Linked DNA regions of Homo sapiens: all the other regions are linked to region 3. Evidence: promoter capture Hi-C in 16 types of primary human blood cells and fetal thymus (Javierre and others, 2016). All regions are on one chromosome and are shown on one strand. The core of a region is centred on a gene start or on the middle of the fragment in contact, and the rest is flanking DNA. Distances in the headings are between cores, read along the strand shown. Region 1 overlaps ASTN2 (astrotactin 2). Region 2 overlaps ASTN2 (astrotactin 2). Region 3 holds the start of ASTN2 (astrotactin 2).

What was found. Contacts are between HindIII fragments. The CHiCAGO score rates a contact against its expected background, and 5 or more counts as called.
Region 1: a contact is called between a fragment that was not itself captured here and the fragment with the promoter of ASTN2 in region 3, in 2 of 17 cell types (monocytes and M2 macrophages). The highest score is 5.2, in monocytes.
Region 2: a contact is called between a fragment that was not itself captured here and the fragment with the promoter of ASTN2 in region 3, in 1 of 17 cell types (M2 macrophages). The highest score is 5.0, in M2 macrophages.

Annotation. Positions count from the first base shown.
Region 1 is chr9:116,742,079-116,746,006 of GRCh38, forward strand. The region is part of intron 13 of ASTN2 (astrotactin 2); the gene reads right to left. Among named protein-coding and RNA genes, the nearest start is that of TRIM32, 57 kb to the left of the region's middle. The HindIII fragment of the contact is 9,300 bases long and covers 1-3,928 here.
Region 2 is chr9:116,724,028-116,727,732 of GRCh38, forward strand. It overlaps ASTN2 (astrotactin 2), which reads right to left. Exons shown (of 23, transcript NM_001365068.1): 16 at 1,744-1,923. Among named protein-coding and RNA genes, the nearest start is that of TRIM32, 39 kb to the left of the region's middle. The HindIII fragment of the contact is 3,162 bases long and covers 176-3,337 here.
Region 3 is chr9:117,412,982-117,417,060 of GRCh38, forward strand. It overlaps ASTN2 (astrotactin 2), which reads right to left and starts at 2,076. Exons shown (of 23, transcript NM_001365068.1): 1 at 1,516-2,076. The coding sequence starts at 1,957. The HindIII fragment of the contact is 7,467 bases long and covers 1-4,079 here.

The DNA.
Region 1 (3,928 bases), core at 1,297-3,796, 670 kb before region 3:
ATGTATGTGTGCACATGTGTGCAAGGTAAATCATTGTTTTGAAAATGTTAAAATGTTTTTCATTCTCCGGAAATCCTATTTCAGCTTTGCCTCTCAAAGTTGACTTTGCAGTGTTTCAAGCTGGACAATAGTTTCAAAACCCAGCCTGTGCTGAGGGCGAAGTTCCCTTCTCTATCAAAAGACAGACCTGCTGACTCAGATCATTATGTTTTATTTTAATATACAGATTGGGCAGGTGATGGCCTCACAGTTGTACCCACCAGATAAGAAAAGGAAATAGTACACTCTTCTTTCTGCCACTGATGCTGCAAGGAATTGTTGAAGAGGAAAGTCAAGTGGCTGAGAGTTCAGATGGGAGTGCCTCAGTGACCCTCCTCCTGGCCTTTTGGAAGTCAAACCACCCCTCATTCATTCCAAGTACAAGGGTAGTGTCAATAAATGCTTAAGATATTTAAGAATCTCGATACGGGTGAGCAGGGGTGATAGGGTTTGCTCCCCTAGACTCAGGATATAGTCTGGGAAGTTTGCAAGCCCCTCGCTCAACAAGCCAACAGGAGCTCCTGGGAGAGGGTAGCAGTAAGTGAAGAAGAGACTTGAATTTGGAGCCACCCATGCCAAGTTCTGCATACACAGGGTAAAGGGGATAAAACTGTCAAGACTTCCTGGCCCCATAAATATGTGCAATTGTTATATGTCAATTAAAATATAAAATTAAAAATAAAAAGACTTCTTGGCATAACTCCTTCGCTCCCATGGTGGCAGGGATGGTAGATGAGGCTGAGATTAGAACATTAGAACCAAGGGGGCTTCAGAGTGTTGAGACCTAATGACCTTGGACATTGGCTGTGTGTTCCAACACATTGCTTCTCTCAAAAAACTACCCAAGACCATCCATACCTCAATGGATGCCAGTGCCAGCGCTCAGAGCCAAGCTCAAACAAAAAATCACATAGCAAATACCAGCAAGGATCCACAAGAACACATTTGTACCAGAGACCTTCCCTCACCAACCTCTGCCTTCTCTGAGGCCAAGTTAAGGGGTAGGGGAGACTGTTTGGTAAGGGGGAGAGGCAAGGCTGGTGGGGAGAATGCAACTGAGGCAAGACTGGTGGGGAGTTGAACTTTGAGTGGACTAAACGTTTACCCTAGAGAAAATGTTTTGTATCCTTAATCAAAAAATGGAAATACTTGGCCGGGCATGGTGGCTTATGCCTGTAATCCCAGCACTTTGGGAGGCCGAGGCAGGCAGATCTTGAGGTCAGGAGATTGAGACCATCCTCGCTAACATGGTGAAACCCCGCCTCTACTAAAAATGCAAAAAAATTAGCCAGGCGTGGTGGCGGACGCCTGTAGTCCACGCTACTCAGGAGGCTGAGGCTGAGGCAGGAGAATGGCGTGAACCCAGGAGGCAGAGCTTGTAGTGAGCCGAGATCATGCCGCTGCACTCCAGTGAGACGGGATCTCACTCTGTCGCCCAGGCTGGAGTGCACTGGTGTGATCTCGGCTCACTGAAACCTCCATCTCCCGGGTTCAAGCGATTCGCCTGCCTCCCGAGTAGCTGGGATTACAGGGGTGTGCCACCCCACCGAGCTAATTGTATTTTTAGTAGAGACGGGGTTTCACCATGTCAGCCAGGCTGGTCTTGAACCCCTGACCTCAAATAATATGCCCACTTCGCCCTCCCAAAGTGCTGGGATTTCAGGCGTGAGCCACCGTACCAGGCAGAAACATGTTTTTGCTATCAGTGGAATGAAAACTTGAGAGAATTATTATGTCAGTTGTAGAAAATTAAGACAACAGTGTTTTTGTATACTGAGTTGCAGCAAAATAATTTTTGAATGCTTGACTGTGAGAATGGATGGTTATAGGTTAGAGGGATAAAGTCTAAGTTTCATCGGGAAAGTTCAGGGACAAAGGAAATGAAGAGAAGGAAAACTTAATGTAGACTGAGGAGGTCAGGAAGGCTCCCTGGAGGAGGTGAGACTTGACAGATTGGGAGGGGTTAACAAGGGAGAGGGCAGAAAAAGGAGGTGAGGGTGGGGCCTAGGCAGAAAGAACAGCATGCACAAAAGTCCATAGGGGTGTATGTGTGTGGGCGCATGTGTGTGTATGGAAGAGGCACAGATAAAACACATGGCATGTTCTGGAAATTGCAATAAGCTAAGTTTCAAGATGCTAAAGCAGCGAGTGAGAAGCAAGGATGGGATAGGGCTAGAGGAGGCCACATAGGGATCAGATCTCATGGGTTTTCTAAGTGATGCTACAGAAGGTGGGCTTCATTCTAAGGGTAAGGAGACCCACTGTAGGGTATTCAGCAGGAAAGCAAAACCATCAGATAGGAGCTTCAAAAAGACTGCCTGACTACAGGGTAGAGGATGGACTGAAAAAAGGCTGGAAGGAGGGAGACCAGTTAAGAGGTTTTGCAGTAATCCAGACAAGACATAACCGATTAGATGGACAACAGAATACAGAGAAGAGGCACAGATTTGAGAGAGAGTCAGGAAGTAGAACCTGCTGATCTCCATTGCCAACTGCACGTGGTGGGGAGTAAAAGAAGAGTCATGGGATATATTGAGCAGGTTTGAGCCCAAGCAGTCAAGCCCATGCTCCTGTGCTGACTCCAGAGACCTGCCTCCCCAGTATTTGCTTATTATTAGTACTAATAACCAGAGCCCTCCACACATGCCTGAGTTCATTAACCACAGCTAGAAAACAGACCAATGTGCTTTGTCCCATCACATATGTCCTCGGCCTCCTTTCTGCCTCTGCTAGCTGTCAGTCCACCTCAGCTTAACTGCTAACTGTGAGACCCACAGGAAGATGGCCAGATCTCAAGCCTAACCCCCAGCACTTCAAGCAGGCCAAGTCACCACCCAGACGGAGGCTCTCAGAACTGCAATTTGCTCCCTAGCAGAATGCAGCTTGTGACCCCTACTGTCCAGGGTGTTTCAAGGACCATGGCTGCAAAGTTGCTTTACTGGCCTATCCAGTGGCCCATACCCATGGGTCCACTCTAATCACATCTGATGCTCCTAGAAATGATAAGCATTACTGTTACCATTTGATAGGAAAAGAAGCAGAGGCAGTATAGAGAAGTGTCTTATTTAAGGCCTTGCAGGTGTTTTCTTGGCAGAATTGGACTGACTACCAATCCCTATTCTTAGTTTCCAATCCAGTCCTGTTTCGACTTGTGCATTCTCAAGGGTTAGGCAGAGTGACCTCTCTACCTGCCTGATACCTTCTCTGAACTGTGAACTCCTTCCAGGCAGCAGCTGTATTTGTTTCTTCTTTGCAGCCTCCTCTGCGCTCTCTCGTAGACTTCCCAGACAGACCTCGTGGTGTCGTCTCCTTCAGGAAGCTGTCACTGAGTCCCTTCTTTGGAAGCAATATCCTTCTGTTTCCACAGCACTTGACTTTGGCTCTGATCTCAAGATCACCAACTCTGCTAGGTATGATTGTTCTCTGCACGTGTTTCCCATCTCAGATTCAATGGTCAATGCTGCAAGGATCTATATAACTAGTTTCCCTCAGAGCCCTCCTCCCCACAGTCTGATTCCAGGGTTTGGTATAGACACAGTCCCTAATAGCTGTTCTTGAGGCCATCATCCCCTCTCATAGCGACTACTACAATGACCTGTTAACTATGCTTTCTGAATTCAGCCTTGCCCCTTCCAATTCATTTACTATCTTGCAGCCAGAACGATTTTCTGAAATGTTTCTAACACAAATATGTCATTAGCTCCATGTATTAGCATTCTATTGCAGCTGTAAAACATCATCACAAAGTTAGAGGCTCAAAACAACATTAATTTATTTTATAGTTCTCTAGGTCAGAAGTCTGACATGGGATTCTGGGCTAACATCTAGGTGTCAGCAGAGATGTTTCTTTCTGGAGGTTCTAGGGGAGAGTTGACTTCCTTGCCTTTCC
Region 2 (3,705 bases), core at 507-3,006, 690 kb before region 3:
GAATGAGAAAGTCAAGTCTAAAGTCTGAAGACAGCTAAGGATGGAGAAGGGGTGGGATTTAGAATCAGAGTAGTGTCCCAAGCCCCAAACGTGGTATGAAGCAAATTAGTTATGTAGCCACAGTGAGTGAAGGTTTTTATAAACATAACCTAATAGTATTACTTCAAAGTCCTGAAGCTTATTGCCCTGCTTAATGATGTGTCACATTATTTGTAGGGTAGCACAATGAGACTTCTATTGATTTAATGCACTTCCTTAAAGACTGTCATTGACACAGCCATAAAACGGAGCTATTCCCAGACAACTCAATTATATCCACTGTGCCCATAAACCACCCCGTGCCCCACACAGTTGCACACAGGAAGCAGAAAGGGCTGAGAGCACGACTGGGGATGCAAAGCCCCCAGGGACAAAAGGGAAGGGATCTAGAGATTGGGAAGCAGGTGGACTAGGGTTTTATCCAGTTGGGAATGTGCAGCTGCATAAAAAGCACTAGACAGGAGGTGTAGAGCACCCCACTTGGTCTTGGCCCTGCCAAGCAAAGCTGCGTGAAAGCTCCCTTCTTCTCCCCTATAGACTTAGTTTCCTCGACTGCAAAACTGGAGTGCTATGCTCAATGAGATCCTTCAGATCCCTCCTGGCTCCCACATTTTGTGGTTTTTTGTTATGATTGCTTTTGTTCTTGGAGATAGGGTGGCTGAGCTGTATGAAAAGATGCAAGCATGTTTTTAACATTGCTCTTCACCCTTTCCATCAATTGAGAGACTTTCTTTTACAAATAGTTGATAATAATAGTATTAACTATATCAAGAAGCATTTCAGTATAGTTGAAAGAGGGAAAGAACATGGGCTTTTGCAGCCAGCCAGCCTTGGGTTCCAATCCTGACCCTGCTACTTATTAGCTGTGTGTCTATGAGTACTTGATGTGGCATATCTGAGACTCATTTTCTCATGTGTAAAATGGGAGTATGAATACACTGACCTATTAAAACACATATATACACATGTGCGATATTCTAACTTCCTCAAAATGCTATTACATAAACCACTTATCTTTAATGTGAGAAGCAGACAAGAATAGCTACTTACGTACCCATTTCACAGGAAGAGAAAATTGAGGTGGAAAAGGAATAACCTTCACAAGGTGAGTGGGCAGAGACTGGTCTCCAGCACCTGGTCTGAGGAATTCCAATTCTGATAATAGCTGAGAGTCAGAGGAAAATGAAATCTGCTGGCCCTTCCTGAGGATAAAAGCCTCACCACAGGACAGAATGGAAACCGTCTGCTTGGTTATGAGGTGATTGTTTTTCCAAAGGAATTGAGTTCTTCTTGGGAGAGAAGAACCCAAGATCTTCTTGGGTTCTCCCAAGAAGCCTGGAGAGAAGAAAGTGTCAAGAAGACACCACTTGCTGACCCCCAACCTGATCTCTGGCAGTTGTTTCAAAGAGAGGATGTGGGAAGCAAAGTACCTGCAAGAGAAGGCAAGGGTTCTGGAGTCTAGAACACTAACTTGAGGCCTCAGAAAATGCCTGACTTGAGAGAATCCTGCAAAATCATTATACGATCCCTCACTCTGCCCATGGTGAAACTGAAGCTCAGAGAGAGGCAGGGACTTGCCCATGGTCACACAGCTTAGACGTGGCAGAGCCAGGATTTAGATCCAAGGCAGCTCAGTTGTCTCCCCAGACCCCTTGCCTCTATAGCCTGCCTGGCCACCTCCTACAGTAGGCACTCCGGGCTTACCTTTCTGATACTGGAGCCACAGCTGCTGCTGGACCTTCTTGCTGGGAAAGTGGATGATGCAGGTGAGCTCTGAGCCATAGAGGGCCTCTGCGATGTAGTGGGAGCCATAGTGCTGGATGAAGGACAGCAGCTCCTCCCGACTGCTCTCCTTGGTCAGGATCTTGAGAACATTAGTGAAGCCTGGACAAGAGAGGAGCATGTGGAGGTGGTCAGATGTGAGAGGCTGGCGGCTAGCAAATTATACGGTGGCAGGAGTTCTTCCCAACCTGTATTTTGTGCCTTACCCCTCAGCACAGTGGCAGCTTGGTGGCTGCACTAGTCCAAACATATACATAATTCCCTCACTTAAATAGCAATGAATGCCCTCTCTGAGGGGTACATCAGACACGGTGACCAAGAGGGAATCTGCAGGAGAAGAAGGCCTAAACTCAGCAACGTAGACCATGGGAACTTAAAAAAGATAAATCAAGAAGTCAAAGCTGATATCCACTCACTGAGCAACCAATGTGTACTGGGAAAACTGTTAGATGTTTCACCCTCTTTATGTAACTTAACCTTAGCCACAATCATATATAATTTGACAACAACAACACCCATTGTATAATGAGCAAGTCAAAGCTGAGAGACTAAAATTGAGTTATCTTGAACTTCCAGGTAGAGAAAGAAGCTGGACTCAAACCCACTTATGTTCTCACTGCACACTGCATGCATTTTCCACCACACCAAACAAACCAGGGCTTGAACTGCCCATGGCTGGAATCCTAAGGCTGCATTTGCCCAGAGTCAGCATGTATTCTGAGTCCATGAATCTGATTCCTGGTTTAGCTTCCTGTAGCATTGCTTTTCTTTATATCTCTGCTGTTCCCTCTCTTTAACAGTGGTATGTTCTCTCTCCCTAGATTTCCACAGAGCCTTCTTGCTGCTCTATTTCTTAGTCCTAGGCTAAGTCCTCAGCACTTAACATGGGGCCTGCACAGCAGTCACTCAGTAAAAACTGCTCCCTCTTTCTCTCCTTCCTCAAACAGGCACATGAGCAAGCTATTCTTCCAGGGACATTCCTGAGCTCCTCCCTGCTACTGGACAAAGCCTAGTGACCTTCTTTAGAAATTCAAGGTTCCAAGCTCATCTCTAATGAGCCACCCACACTAAGTTTTAGCTCCAGCCAAATTAGTTTTATTATTTATCCTGAATGTGACCTGAAATTTCTATCATTCTATCTTTCCTTGCATTCTCACTACACTCAACACACACACACACACACACACACACACACACACACACACACCTGAAATGGCCTCCCTATGTCCTCCCTAAGTCACACCTATGCTTCAAGGCCCCTGGAAGTCACCTCTTCTCCAAGAAGCCTTTCACATCATTATGGACAGGAGTGCCTACTGTCTGCACTTTCAACATGCACCACCTTAAAGTCGGAAGCTCTACCTTATTTGTCTCTATATCCGCACATGCATCCTCCCTGCACACCCACCCCAACTGGGTACATGGCCCAGTTCCTGGGACACAGCAAACACACCAACCACAATTATTACAAGAACAGCCAACACTGTGCCACATCAAAGTAAAATGTAAAAGAACAAGCTTCTCTCCAGCATTAAAAGTGAGCTCCAATTTGCCAACATTTGATTGACAAAAGGGTTTTCCGGGAGCATCATTATTGATTAATTAAAGCAGATGCACCTTTGTACTTCTAACAGGAACATCATAGTCTTATTCACAAATGCAGTGTGGGGTGTGGGGGGCAGAAAACAAAAATAGGGGGCTCAAAGAATGGGTGTTTGATGAGAACAACCCCTCTCCATCAACCTGTTAAGTAATACAACTGGGTAATTAATACAGTAGTGTTAATAACGAGATGGTTTCTGTTAAGTAATAAAAAACAATACCACAGAGATGCCCTGAGGGTCTTATCCAGGCAGACAAAACTGCAATCAAATCCTTGATTCA
Region 3 (4,079 bases), core at 826-3,325:
ACCCCAGAAGCGCCGCCGCGGGGAGTCCCCGAGGAACCTGCAGGACGCTCCGCTGCCTCTCCTCCCGGAACGCTCGGCACGCTCAGGTTACAGCCTGCGAGGGTGGGTACAGGGGCTCGACCCCCGAGGTTCAAGCTCAGAGCGGGAGAACCACTGGCACTCGCTCAAATCCCCAGAGGTGGTAGCATGAAAGGATGGGGAGTGGGTCACAAAAATACTTTTAACAATATCAGGGCTACCAGGAGAGTGGAGCGTAGTCCGCTGATTATTCTGTGGGTCTTTTCAGGCGAGCAAGGAGTTAACCTCGGAAGTTCAGGGATCGTAAAGGTTCTCACCTGGAAGGCCCCTCACCTGCGGTGCCCGAGGCGGATCCCGCCGAGGAAAAGACCCGGGGAAGAAGAGCTCCGGGTCTGGGCGAGCCCCTGGCGCCTCACGGGCGCTGTTGTTGGCCAGACTCCGACAACCAATAAGGCCCCGCGCCCCCAAGAGGGGAGGGGAGAGCGAGCAAGCAGCGAGCGCGGGAGAGCTAAGGGGAACAACATTTTTGTAAACGCTCTCCGAGATAATTAAGCTATCAATTACCCGGGTGGGAAATCAGCTGCGCTTCCCACAGCTCCACTGAAGGGCCGACTCCTCCGGGATTCGCGCAGGGAACCAGCAGGCAGCAAGCTGCTGGCGAACTTTTCTGATTAACTTTTCCGTTGGAGCCCCCCACCCACACCCATCTCCTCTCCTCTCCTTTTTCTTGCCTTTAAGTAATTATTATTAGCCCAGGGAGTGAGCTGCAAGGACAAACCGGCTCTCTGCCTGGAGGTGGGTAGAAAGGGAAGGCGGTAACGGGGGTAGAGGGAGGCTCTAAACGTGGAGACCTCGGAGTCGGAATCCCAGTTCTCAGCAACCACTCAAGTCTCTCCAGCCCTATTTCACAGATGGCCAGAACTGAGGCTCAGAGAAGGGAAGCGACTTGGCCAAGGTCACTCAGCCCATGCGGAAGCCACGCTTTTGCGGGTTGAGCGATTCCACACGGAACTACTCCATTCCTACTCTCATGAAAATCCATCTGGAAGGGCAGAACCCGCAACTCCGAGGCGAGAGCGAGGGGGCGGTGACGGCGGGTGGCCAGTGACGGTACCCGGAGAAGTGGGAGGCTCGACCTGAAACTGGCTTAGGATCTGGGATGCTCCGGCCCCTAGCCAGAGCACCTTCAGTGAATGGGGTCTCCGGCTTCCGGGATGGATCAAGCAGAGCTCCAGGTCGGGACTGAGAGGCAGAGGGGCAGGTTCCCACTGCGGGAGGGTTGGCACGCCCCCAGGCTCCCGCCGCGCGCTCTCCAGGACCTCCTCCCACATGCTCGTTTCCAACCACCTGTGCGACCTCTGGGCCCCTCCTCTACCCTCTGCCAACCCCACTCGGGGCAGCCCCGGGCAGGGATCCCCAGGGCGCCCCCACCCGTCCGGCATGACGCAGGGGCTCGGGGTTCCTTGGGATCTAGCGCGTGCCGGCGCCCAGCCTTACCCAGGGTGAAGAAGGGCAGCTCGGTGTTGTCCAGGTCGTCCTGCACCGCGATGCGCCCCGGCAGCTCGTTACGCACAAAGAGCAGGAGGCGCGACTCGGCGGCGGTGCCGGCAGAGCCAGGAGAGCCCGGGGACGCGGCGGCGGCGGCGGCTCCGGCCCCGGTCCCAGCCCCGGCCCCGGCGCGGGCGCCGCTCCAGCCGATGTCGCTCTCCCGCAGGGCGGGCAGTGTGGACACCGTGACGGTCTTCAGCCGGCACGGGCTGTCGGGCTCCCGCGAGGCAGCGGCGGTGGCGCCGGCCAGCAGCGGCGGCGGCGGCAGCAGGAGCAGGAACAGCAGCAGCAGCGGCAGCAGTGGCGGCGGCCCCGGGTGGAAGCAGAGCCTCGGCCGCCCCCGGAGCCCCGAGCCGGGGCCGGGGCTGAGCCGGGCGCCGGCGGCGGCCATGGCGGGAGGGGCTGCGGTGCTGCGGGCGGCGGCGGCGGTGGCGGCGGTGGCGAAGGAGGAAGAGGAGGCAGCTGCGGAGACGGCGGACGCCGAAGCGAACCAGGACGCCCGAGCTAAGGAGCGGAGAGAGCCGCTCGCCAGCAGCCCCCAGCTCCGGGCTCCGCCTCCCGATCGGCCCTGGACCGCCCCCCCGCGCCGCCTCCCGGGGCCCAGCCGCCCGTCCCCGATCTCCGGCTCCCCCCGCAGACCCCGAGCGTTTCGGAGGCTCCGCCCGGCCTCGTGCAAGTCCCAGTGGCTCCCTCCCCTTTCCCAAGATCCCCCAATTCCGCCCTCACAGCATTCTTTAGCCACAACACCCCTCCCTAAACTCCCCAAATTCCTAATACTTAGGGCCCCCTCGGGCCCCCCCAAGCCCCCCTGACTCAACCCAGTTCTCCTGGCTTCACCCCACCTTCGGCTCAACCCAGAGGCTGCACCTGGGGGCGCGCCTTGGCCCAGCCTTGCTCAAGGCCCCGCCTTCTTGGGGATAGGGAGCCCCCTGGATAGCCAAGACTTAACTTTGTCTCCCCTCAGGCCCAAGAACAAGTCCTTTCTCCAATCTCCTACCCTTTTCTAGTCTCTGAAATAACTTCCTGTAGCCTCAGAGCCCCCTTCCCACCCACTTGGCCACAACTCCTGCATTCATTCTCCCACTGCCCGCAAACCTTCCTCTCCCCTCCATCCAGGCCTTGTGCTAGCACTAATTGCTAATGGACAGAGGGGCGTCGAACTCCACCGTCTAACGCCGACCCCACAACTGACTGAAGCCGGGCTGTTCTGGCCCCCTAGCTGCCGCCCTGCAAGCCAGCCCACTCACGCTTTTTTATTTTGGATCCCTGCTCCCAGCTTGGAGCAGCTCTACTTGGCTGCTTCTGCTCTCTGTGTGAAATTCCTGAAAAGGGTGTGAGGTAGAGACCTACTATTCTGTCTGTCCTTGGCTCCCGGGTCTTTTAGATCCTCTGCCCAAGTCCCAGAGAACGGGAGTGCTCACCAATTCTTCACCTGCAGTCTTTCTAGACTCAAGTTGAGCTAGGTCCTCAGATTCAGCACCCTTTGGTCTTGGGCTGACTCTGTCTCTGACCCACATACCTGAGACCCTCCAGGGAGCGGACACCTCTGCATGGGTCAAGTGCCGTGCAGCCCCTTCCCCACTCCCCTACTTTTCTTCATCTTCCCTGTCTCTGTTTTCTGTTTCATCTCTCCATTCATTTCCTTCCTTCTCATCTTGACTTTAATCTTACAAATGCTTCTTTCCTATAATTTGTGAGCAACTTCTCATCTCTGTCTAGCTTACCCATCTGCACCTTTTGTGCTGTCTCTATGCATTCACTTTTCTCTTAGCTCTTCCCTCTTCTGTCTCATTCCCCTTTTCTATCTTTAACCCTTCATATAAATTGCTTTTCTCCTCTCTCATCATATATTTTTTAATAACGTTGGATAAAGGCAGAGCACTGAAAATAAGGAAAAAAGCAAAAGCTGTTTTGCGACCTTGGACTTAATGTGTTTAAAGCATTCTCCAAATGCTAGACATGTACGTATGTTAGCTTTTTTACATGACCATAATCCAAAAAGATGGATATTATGATTCCCATTTTCCATGTGAGGAAACTGAGATCAGGTGGTCAGGGAGGTGAAGGGATTTTCCAAGGTCGTATAGCAAATGAGCTGAAGAGCTGAGGTTTGAACAGTAGGCTTCAAGCCTTGACTGTTTCCCTTAAATTACACTGTCCTCAGTGACCTTGGAAAACCCCACCCATCAAAGATGCTGTAAAAGGTAAATCTGCATAAGCACAGTTGGATCTACTTCCCTGTGAGGTTTGTAAGGTATACTTCTCCTGTCTCAGTTTACTAATCTGTGAACCCAAAGGATGTGTGGAGGTTGGGGTGGAATCTGGCCTTTCAAGTCCTCTAATTCTAAATGGTCTCCTGCCTCTCTGATGCCTGCTCTAGTTCATTTACTCCTCCAAAATATGTCACCCTGCCTCCCTCAGTCTCTCCTTTGTGTCCTTACAATCCGCCACTATCCACCGCAATGGGGCTTTCTGATTCTCTATGCCCCTTTCTTCAAATATGCTGACATAGT